Linked DNA regions of Homo sapiens: regions 1 and 3 are each linked to region 2. Evidence: promoter capture Hi-C in 16 types of primary human blood cells and fetal thymus (Javierre and others, 2016). All regions are on one chromosome and are shown on one strand. Each heading gives the region's core, a stretch centred on a gene start or on the middle of the fragment in contact. The rest is flanking DNA. Distances are from core to core; before and after follow the strand shown. Region 1 has its middle 22 kb from the start of ZNF24. Region 2 holds the start of ZNF397 (zinc finger protein 397). Region 3 overlaps MAPRE2 (microtubule associated protein RP/EB family member 2).

Region 1 (3,350 bases), core at 208-2,707, 81 kb after region 2:
ACTTACCTAGTAGAAGACTGAAATAGGCCAGGCACAGTAGCTCATGCCTGTAATCCCAGCACTTTGGGCGGCTAAGGCCAGAGGATCACTTGAGCCCAGGAGTTTGAGACCAGCCTGGGCAATATAGGGAGACCCTGTCTCTACAATCAATCAATCAATAAGCTGGGTATAGTGGCATATGCCTGTGGTCCCAGCTACTCAAGAGGCTAAAGTAGGAGGGTTGCTCTAGCCCGGGAGGATGAGGATGCAGTGAGCTGTGATCACACCACTGCACTCTAGTCTGAGTGACAGAGCCAGACCCTGTTTCAAAACAACAAAAAAAGACTGAAATAATCTTTCTTAGACCTTTTTATTTAAAACATTGCTGATCCTTCTAAGTTTTTCAGAATCAAGAAAACTTTTTTCTCTGTTAAGCTATTTATACCTTTTAACAACTGAGTAAAGTAGACTTCTGTAAGCAAAATTTGGGGCATTATTTCTTTCTGTCTAGTTAACTTCTCCAGAATTTGAAAATTATTTGTGAGTATTCCTAACTTGCAGCAATATAGTTGTTTGCCTAAGTGCAATAAGAATCTGTCTTCTTTTGTAACAGGCATAATTAGAGACACTTTTTGTTTTAAGGCTTTGACTGGAATAGCATGCTTTCAGATTGCTTTTAAAAATTGGGGATTACTTAGAGAACCAATAAAAGCTCCTTGGAGGAAATGGTCTCATACTTTGTCTATGCAGTCCCTGCACAGGGTTCCTGACCTGTGGAAAAGAATGTCACTTTCTGACAGGTCCAGGAGCCCCCAAACTATTATAAGACTTGTAGAGGAAAGGAGTTCACCCAATTCATACAAGTATTTGTAGGCGCAAATACATCCACAGTGGGGCTCAAGGCTTTAAAAAGTCTAACCAGAGATTCCTATGGAAGTTTCAGCAAAACCAGTTTTTTTTAAAAAAAGGATACTACATGGCAAATGATTATTCTTGCTGTACTTTATGCAAATAATCACAGCAAGTATAATAAGATAAAACAGCCAGACATGGTGGCTCACACCTATAATTCTAGCACTTTGGGAGGCCAAGGCAGGTGGATCACCCGAGGCCAGGACTTCGAGACCAGCCTGGCCAACATGGAAAAAAAAACCTTTTCTCTACTAAAAATACAAAAATTAGCTGGGCATGGTGATGCACATCTGCAATCCCAGATACTCGGGAGGCTGAGGCACGAGAATCACTTGAACCCAGGAGGCAGTGGTTGCAGTGAGCTGAGAGTGCACACTGCACTCCAGCCTGAGTGACAGAGCAAGCTTCTGTCTCAAAAAAAAAAGACTAAAACTTACCGCAAGATAAGTTTTAGTCTTGTTATACCATATTCCAGCATGATTTATCTTTGGTAAAACTGGGAGACTGGACAGGAAGATTACGTTTTGTTTAAAAAGAAAATGTATAGTGCACCAGTTATTGGATTCCAGTTCTTGTCTGTTGTTTTTGAGTTTTTATTATTTTCTACAATTTGGATTGGCTCTTCAATTCTTTCTGGGCTCCAAACCAACATTTTCAAAATTTTCTTCTATTTTTCAGACTAGGACTCAATGAAATTGCTGCCCCCATGTTCCTGAGGCTCTGCAAGCTGAAGCTTATTTCTCATGATATAGGCAAGAAAAATGTGTCAGGTTGCCACCACCTTCCTCCCTGGTAACTAAAGATATTTTGAGTCTAACATCTAGATACATTGTGTCCAACATTAACCTTTGTTTTTCTTCTGTTTCCATAAAAATGCCTCTTATTAAAAACCTGTTTGCCTTCATTAATATAGAGGCTCAGCCTGTTTGCAATGCCACCTCCTGGAATGAGACACAGTTGTTTAAACTAATCTATTCTCAGGACTAGGAAGCTGACTCAACAAGGGTGTGGATGGTTGAAGCTCGTATCTTCCAGGCTTCAACAGTCCCCAGTCAAGCTGATGATGGAACAACATATACTATACTAGGAGTATCTAAGTCCCTATAAATCATTAGATCAGTCAGCAAGAGATTTTTACAACCTCCAATGTTAGGCAACGACAACAGTCCAGTTCAGGAAGAAGCAGCTCCAGAAGACAAGACCTCCATCCCCTTCTCCTTAAGAATAAGGAGGGTAAAATCTCTCAGGGGGAATGAAACAGGGTAGAGGTGGGACTCAGCCAGCCCCCACCAATGTATTTTTTCATACATACCTGCTGACCAGACCTTGCAAACTCTCTGAAGAAACTAAGATAAGCAGCATCCCACCATAAATCTTACTCAAGGCACCATATCTGCTGATTGTGGGACCTTGAAAAACCACAATAAGCAACACCCAAACATGAATTTCACTCAAAGGAGTTAACCCTATCACCTACATGTGCACAAAACCAGAAGAATGACCAATCTTTGACCCATGCTTCATTATAATACTAAAATTCCTGCCCAAGGAGGGGCTTATCTGCCCTTTTATGGTCATATATGTTACCAAGATTCCTTACTGTATCTGCACACTGCATTCTACCCTGCACATATAGTGACACTCACCTACCTCATGAATTCTGCATGCCACCCTCCTTAAGACATCACGATGCACTCCCCTTGGGGAGTCAGCCCAAGAACTTTTTCCTTTTCTGTCTTCCTTATGCCCAGCCTTTCTGGGGGTAAGTCTTAATAACCCTTGTCTAGGAAAAGTTTGCCTGGCCTCATCTTCATTTCTATTACTAATTTCTATTGAGAGCCAAGAACCTCATGTACATAACAATAATTTCACTCCAAAATATATAAAGCTTAAATTGACAAAACTAAAATAAGTGATAATTCTGTAATCCTAGTAGGAGACTTTCACAATTCTCACAATATTTTCTTTTATGTATTTATTATCATGACCTCTACACACTGAAACAACTCTCACATTTGTAAAATATAGAACAAACAGAAAAAAAATTCTAAGGAATTACAGTGTAGGTTGACAATTTAATTAATAAAATGGCCTCACGGATGTATAGATAACAGTGCAACCAATGACAGAAAACTTATTCTTTTTAGATGCACAGAGAAAATTTACCAAAACTTAGCATGAACTGGTTCATAAAGCAACTTACAACAAATCTCATCAGATGGAAATCATTTAGAGTAGTGCTGTCCAATAGGACTATTTTTGTCCTATTTATATTGTTGAATACAGTAGTCACTATAGTCAACACAGCAGTTACTAGCCAGATGTGGTTATTGAACACTAATATATGACTGGTGTGGCTGATGAACTAAATTTCATTTCTAATTAGTTCAAATAGCCACATGTGGTTATGGCTATCATATTGGAAAGCACAGACTCACCGTATATTTAGACAATCACAC
Region 2 (3,293 bases), core at 32-2,531:
ACGAACATTTTTCTCAAATATGTGTTTTAAGTCTTGGCTCACAAAGGAGAATTTGTTTCTATGTATGTATGTATCGCTTTGTTATTATCCTGTGTACTTTTTTAATATAACATTTTAAAAATATGTAACATTTAAACATGTAAAATGTAACGTTTTAAAAATAAATACAAATAAATGGGAAACGATTTGCAACAAACGAGTTGCTATCCTTAATAAGCAAAAAATTCTCACAAATAAAAAAGAAAAATCTTACTCCCTTAATTTTTTAAATGGGAAAAGCCATCTCTGAAGAACCATAAATGGTCAGTAAACATGAAGGGGGACTATCTTAAGCTCACAAAGTTGAAACATGAGGCATCATTTTTCACCGACTAAATAGCCAAAGAAAAATTTAAACAGTGAGACAATACCAGCAAGCTTCCACTGAAGAACGGGAAGACCCTAAGATAGGCTCCAGGAGTCTACGATACCAGTCTCCTTGAACTATGGGGACGTGGACGTCCCTGGTCACAAGTTGCCTGACTTTGGGCGATGTCTACGGCTGTAAATTTGGGATTATATAGCCACAGCACAGAACTGTTGTAAGGCTCCAGTGATACTCATAGGCAAAAGCAATATAAGTGACTGTTAGTTTTTGTTCAGCCTATTCATCCTTACATTTACTTTTGTCGGAAAAGAACTGGAATCACAGGAAAATCTGAGGTTTTTTTTTTTTTTTTTTTTTTGAGACAGAGTCTCGCTCTGTCGCCCAGGCTGGAGTGCAGCACATCTCAGTTCACTGCAAGCTCCGCCTCCCGGGTTCACGCCATTCTCCTGCCTCAGCCTCCCGAGTAGCTGGAACTACAGGCGCCCGCCAACATGCCCAGCTAAATTTTTGTATTTTTAGTAGAGACGGGGTTTCACCGTGTTAGCCAGGATGGTCTCTATCTCCTGACCTCGTGATCCGCCCGCCTCGGCCACCGCGCCCGGCCGAAAATCTGAATATTTTAATGGAAAACTGGGAGTGAGATTCGGGAATTACTTGAGACCAACAATGATGGGTGGTGCCAGGAGAAAGCCAGGGTGGGAACGGCCCAGGCGAGATGCGGGACCCTCCAGGTGCCGCCGCTCACAAGGACCCCTGACTCCTAGCGCACCCTCCCCTGGCCTTGGAGATTCCGCCGGGCTAGCGGCTACCGGGAGAAGGCGGTGGAAACTGTAGAGCCCGCGGCTCTGATTGGCTACCTCAGAGCAAGGGGCGGGGCGGCGGAGGACCCGAAGGGCGCGAGAGCGGAACACTGCGTACGCGCACTTCCGGTCTTTGTGGCTTGCAGCTCGGGGTGGGTGGCTCATTTCCTGGCCGCTCCTGGGCTTCGCGGTGAGGGACGTGGGCCCCTAGGAAGAGGGAGGTGGGGTTGGGAGCGCGCGCCGGACAGTGGAGGAGCTCCGCTCCTCGGCCTGCCCATCCCCAGGTCGCGGCCCTTTGGCCCGCGCGGCGTCTCCAAGCGACTGGGGAACTCAGAGGAGGCCAGCACTCAAACTCCTGCTTTCCAAAGGAAAACGCAGTTCCGCTGACCCCGTGACTTCGTAAATGCTGCGGTTTAACCAAGGATATAAAAATAGAAGGGCTAGTTAGTTAGTTAGTTAGTGCGGCCGGACTGGTTAAACCTTAAATTTGTAGGCTAAATATTTTAATTCATCTCTTAACGTTAACCGTAGTGTGAGGAATGAATTTTACTCATCTGTCCTGACAAACTAAGGGCATACATTCCTATCGATATCTCGCCATCCTAAAAGCAGGTCAAGTTTGGTCTGTGTCACAACATTTAATACCTATTTGTTACCATATTTTGCTTTTGAACATTTTTAGTCTTGGGATATTCTAAGCTTTTTCAGAACTGATACGGATCTCTTTGCTGCTTTTGTGTATGTGATACCTATCATGTTTTTGAACACATGGTAAGCATTTTACAGATACGTCTTGGTTCTTGGTCAATTCCTCTGTAGACTCGTTTATTCATAAGCAAAAATCTTAATGCTCAGTAAGTGCCTCAGTGTTTGTTGAAGTAATTCGGTAAACACCAAATGCGATCAAATGACAAATATCCAATATTTACATCAACTCATGTTTAATGTGAACTTTTAAAAAAACGTTATTACTGCCTTAAATGAAAATCAACATTACTTGCTTTAGATAGAAAGTAAGTAAAAATAAATGTTTAAAATCAGTATTACTAAATTCTGCCTAAATATTTTTACTCTTGGAAGTCTGATTCTGAAGCCTGTATTTTATTTAAAAGAGAGTTCTACAAGTTTTATTAATACATACATGTTAAAGATAGACTTTTCTCCTTGATACAATCAGAATTGAAAGAATTGGAAAGGAAATTTTCTCACTATGTGATTGATGTTAATGTTGCATTCACATTCTTAGGCTTCTAAAATAGTTTTTTCTAACATTAGTGGTAGGAATTCTTCATAATGGGAGACACTAATTGAGGTTAATGATTTTTAGTTTATCATCACATTATTGTTTTATTTAGTGATAGCCCCAAATCTACTCCCTTTCAATATATTACTAAAGTTACTCATCTTTCTTATTACAAGTACTTAGAGATTTTATTGATTGCTGTAAGTTAACTGCTTTTATATCCTTCAGGAAAGAAGAGATTACTCACACTCCTTCGCAAGCACAGAACCAGTTGTACTGAGCTTTTTGCTAAGCTGTTTCAGCCAAGAATGGCTGTGGAATCTGGAGTGATTTCAACCCTGATACCTCAGGATCCTCCGGAACAAGAACTAATACTAGTGAAAGTAGAAGATAACTTTTCCTGGGATGAGAAATTTAAGCAGAATGGGAGTACTCAATCCTGCCAAGAATTGTTTCGTCAGCAATTCAGAAAATTTTGCTACCAGGAGACACCTGGGCCCCGGGAGGCTCTGAGCCGACTCCAGGAACTTTGCTATCAGTGGCTAATGCCAGAGTTGCACACAAAGGAGCAGATCTTAGAACTGCTGGTACTGGAGCAGTTCCTGAGCATTCTGCCTGAGGAGCTGCAGATCTGGGTTCAGCAACATAATCCAGAAAGCGGCGAGGAAGCTGTGACCCTGTTGGAGGATTTAGAGAGGGAGTTTGATGACCCAGGGCAGCAGGTGGGAACGGAGAAAAGTGATGTGGGAAAAGGAATTTACAGCCTGGAGCATGTAATGGTATCATAACAGTAGGATAAAAATTTTTATGTCTCTACTGAACCCTAACCTGAAGTGACTAATAGAGCCATACTTGTCTATACCCTTGAATGGTCTTTTTCCCC
Region 3 (2,977 bases), core at 465-2,964, 120 kb before region 2:
ATGTCCAATTCCCTACCAGGTCTTCATTCCCACGAGATTGGTGTGGCTAGTGCCTGCTGTGTGGAGCTGCCCCTAGCTGCTCAAGGAGGACTGCCCACTCTTAAGAGCCTCCACTGAAAAGGAAGAGCTGCAGACCTCACCACTGGCTGCACTGGTCAGAACAGAAGTCCTAAGGGCTGTAAACTGCCAATTTCAGAATTAAAAAACCAGCCTCCTAGTGATCTCATGAATCAGAGCATCCCAGAACCCTGTTAAAGTTTCATTTGGATGGAAATCTGTCCACTGAGGTGCTTTTTTGCCCTCAGCTCAGAGCAGATTACAGAATCTACAAAGTGACAGTACGGAGGCAGTTTTGAAGGAAAGACTAGGTCAATATAACTTGAATTTGCAGTAATCAGAATTCTGTAGGGACTGGCAACCCTATTGCAGTATGAGGGCTGTGGTGTCAGTTCAGTTACTGAGGAAGTCCTCTTCCTATGGAATTCACTCTCCTCATCAGTCTAGCCCATACCCTTTCTCCAGCAATGACATTACTTTTTTTTTTAACCAAGCTCATCATCTGTTAAAAAATATAATCTCTTTGCCAAGGTGCAGGGGATAAGAAAGTAATATCAAATCCATCCACAATGAATCAATACAGATGCAGTGTATCTTCTGCCATAGTTGTTCAGCTCTGGGTTTTCTTCAATTGAGTGAGAACGGCTAGGGGGATGGTTTGGGAAGGGAAGGGGCTCTCAAAGTAGAGAAAAATTGGGATTGACCATGACCAGAAGAGTGGTGGCCGCCTGCATGTGTGTGTGCACACGCTCATGTTTTTAATGTCTCTTGTCAACAGTATTAATGTCATATTTTTATCTCCTCTGTTTATGACTTTGGCAAAAGGAATAATATGGCAGATTATGTGAAAAGAATTTCTAAATTCCAGCAGAGTCTTGGCCATGAAGGATAAAGCCAAGTCCAGTGCTTTGATTTGCTTCATCCTTCTGAATCCATTGGGCCTCATATGCCCAACTTGTTGCAGCGTTTTCCATAAACATTAAGCAAGCTACTAGTTATTGACATTAGACACGGTAATGCCCTGGCTTCACTAAGGCAGTGAATCTGACCACTCCGAATTTTTTTACAACTATGGTTAAAATGTCAGAATCATATTTATACCCCCAAATCCTAAAGGCATTAATTAAGACACAACTGCTCAAAGACTAGCATTGTAAATCATGTCCAGTGAGCAAATTCAGAGAATTACAGGGACTTAGACAGAATTTATGCTTTTTTCCTCTGCTTCTGAGATTCCTTTTTATTTTGAAAGGTAAAATTAGGGAGGTAGAAAAGCTTGAGGGCAAAATGGTTACTTGTAAACAGGGCCACTACTAATTATGTTCTCAGGACATCCTCAAATGCAGCTTGAAAAAAAATTTGAAATGTTTGAATCAGCTGCAAGAAAAAAAAATCTATATCTGTATTACAGCCAAAGTAGGTGCACTCTCTGTAAAAGCTGTTATGTAAATGTTTTCCACATAAGCATCATTGAGCCAAGAGGCCTGGTAAAGGTACAGAAGTCAAATCACTGATGGAGTGGGGCATTCTGGGAAGCAAGAAGATAGCTATTGAGGACTTCAGTATCTAAAACCAGGATTGGATGCTGTCAGAGACATGTTTGGAGCAGTTTACGAGATTGGAATACAGATGGTAGCTCACATAAAAGTATTCTATCAATGTTAAGTTTATGACATTGATAACTGTGCAGTTTTGTGAGAACATTCTTGTTCTAGTGCCCAGGTAAGGGGGAAAGAGTATCTGGCAGCCCCAGAAATTTTAGAGTGTGGTTGTTAGAAGGCAGCGAGACCTAGAAAGCAAATAAACAAAAACAAGTTCTTAACTCTAAAGAGTTATGCTGTATGTTAGGATATTGTCTTTTATTTATTCTGAAAAAGAAAACATGAAATCATTGAATATAATGAGGACAAAAGGTTTCATTTTTATTTTTATACATTTAGTATTTCTTAATCATGTGACAGCTGTGAGGGGTAAATTACTTCCGTTTCAAATTGCAGCTTGGGATGATTTAATGAGCCCACTTTACATTTATTTGAAAACAAGCTTTTAGTTTAACTGTTAATTATGGGGTTTTTTTGTTGTAGTTGTTGTTTTACCCAAACCTCGGAAGATACTAAGATCTTTCCCATGCCTTTCCTGTTCTTTAATTTCTTCACATTTATTCATTTGAAGGTAAAAATGTAGTTAAGTAGGCCTGATCTCACATATCCTCATGCATCATTTATTTTCCTGTTATCAGTTTTTCTCCGAACAATAGAATTTCAAGATCCCTCTCATTTTAAATATCAAATACTAGTTACCTAAGTGATTGATTATTAAATGTTTAGAATTTTTTTTCCATTTCTTCCTTCACTCAGCCTGCACTGTGTCCCCGTTAGTGAGGCTTAACGGTGGGGCAGAAGCGGTGCTTCCATCCCACATGTGTGTAGGTGGTGGAGCAGCAGAGGTTGCCGAGCCTGATTTTCATCGCCTGCACCTCTCTCATCTCAAAGGGATCCAGGAGGTGCACGTGTGTGTGCCAGTGGGAAAGCCCTGGGGCCCTAGGCCACCACCTGACCTTTGCCTGATTCGTGAGCACAGATGCCATTTTAGGGCCGAGACTCTGCTGAACCACAGCTTGGTGAGTCCAAGCCACACAGGCAGGTTGAAGTTGGGCTCTGTTAACAGAAAGGGATATTTCCTCAGGGGAAGAAAACAAAACAAAACCTGTTTCCCCAAGTGGCTGTGTGTGGCTAGAAGGGGGAGAGCATCAGTAACTGCAGCAGCTGTGCCCTCCCTCCCTGCCGTGAGCCATGCTGAGCGCCTCCAGCGGCCGGGGATTCTCCCTGCGTGTCTCACTGCTCTCCTGGCCAGTGTCCTCTGCTTCTTCATAGTTGCTCTTCCCCGATAACGTGGCTTTGCCCAGGGGTTTGGCTTGCCA

The links. The method cuts DNA at HindIII sites, captures the fragments that hold promoters and counts their contacts. A CHiCAGO score of 5 or more calls a contact.
Region 1: a contact is called between a fragment that was not itself captured here and the fragment with the promoter of ZNF397 in region 2, in 5 of 17 cell types (total CD8 T cells, megakaryocytes, naive CD4 T cells and 2 more). The highest score is 7.2, in total CD8 T cells.
Region 3: a contact is called between a fragment that was not itself captured here and the fragment with the promoter of ZNF397 in region 2, in 2 of 17 cell types (total CD8 T cells and total B cells). The highest score is 5.3, in total CD8 T cells.

What each region holds. Positions count from the first base shown.
Region 1 is chr18:35,320,819-35,324,168 of GRCh38, forward strand. No RefSeq gene overlaps it. Among named protein-coding and RNA genes, the nearest start is that of ZNF24, 22 kb to the right of the region's middle. The HindIII fragment of the contact is 329 bases long and covers 1,294-1,622 here.
Region 2 is chr18:35,239,753-35,243,045 of GRCh38, forward strand. ZNF397 (zinc finger protein 397) reads left to right here and starts at 1,282. Exons shown (of 4, transcript NM_001135178.3): 1 at 1,282-1,357; 2 at 2,639-3,132. The coding sequence starts at 2,719. RefSeq lists enhancers at 964-1,073, 1,019-1,544 and a silencer at 1,334-1,463. The HindIII fragment of the contact is 1,449 bases long and covers 416-1,864 here.
Region 3 is chr18:35,120,193-35,123,169 of GRCh38, forward strand. The region is part of intron 4 of MAPRE2 (microtubule associated protein RP/EB family member 2); the gene reads left to right. Among named protein-coding and RNA genes, the nearest start is that of MAPRE2, 80 kb to the left of the region's middle. The HindIII fragment of the contact is 768 bases long and covers 1,331-2,098 here.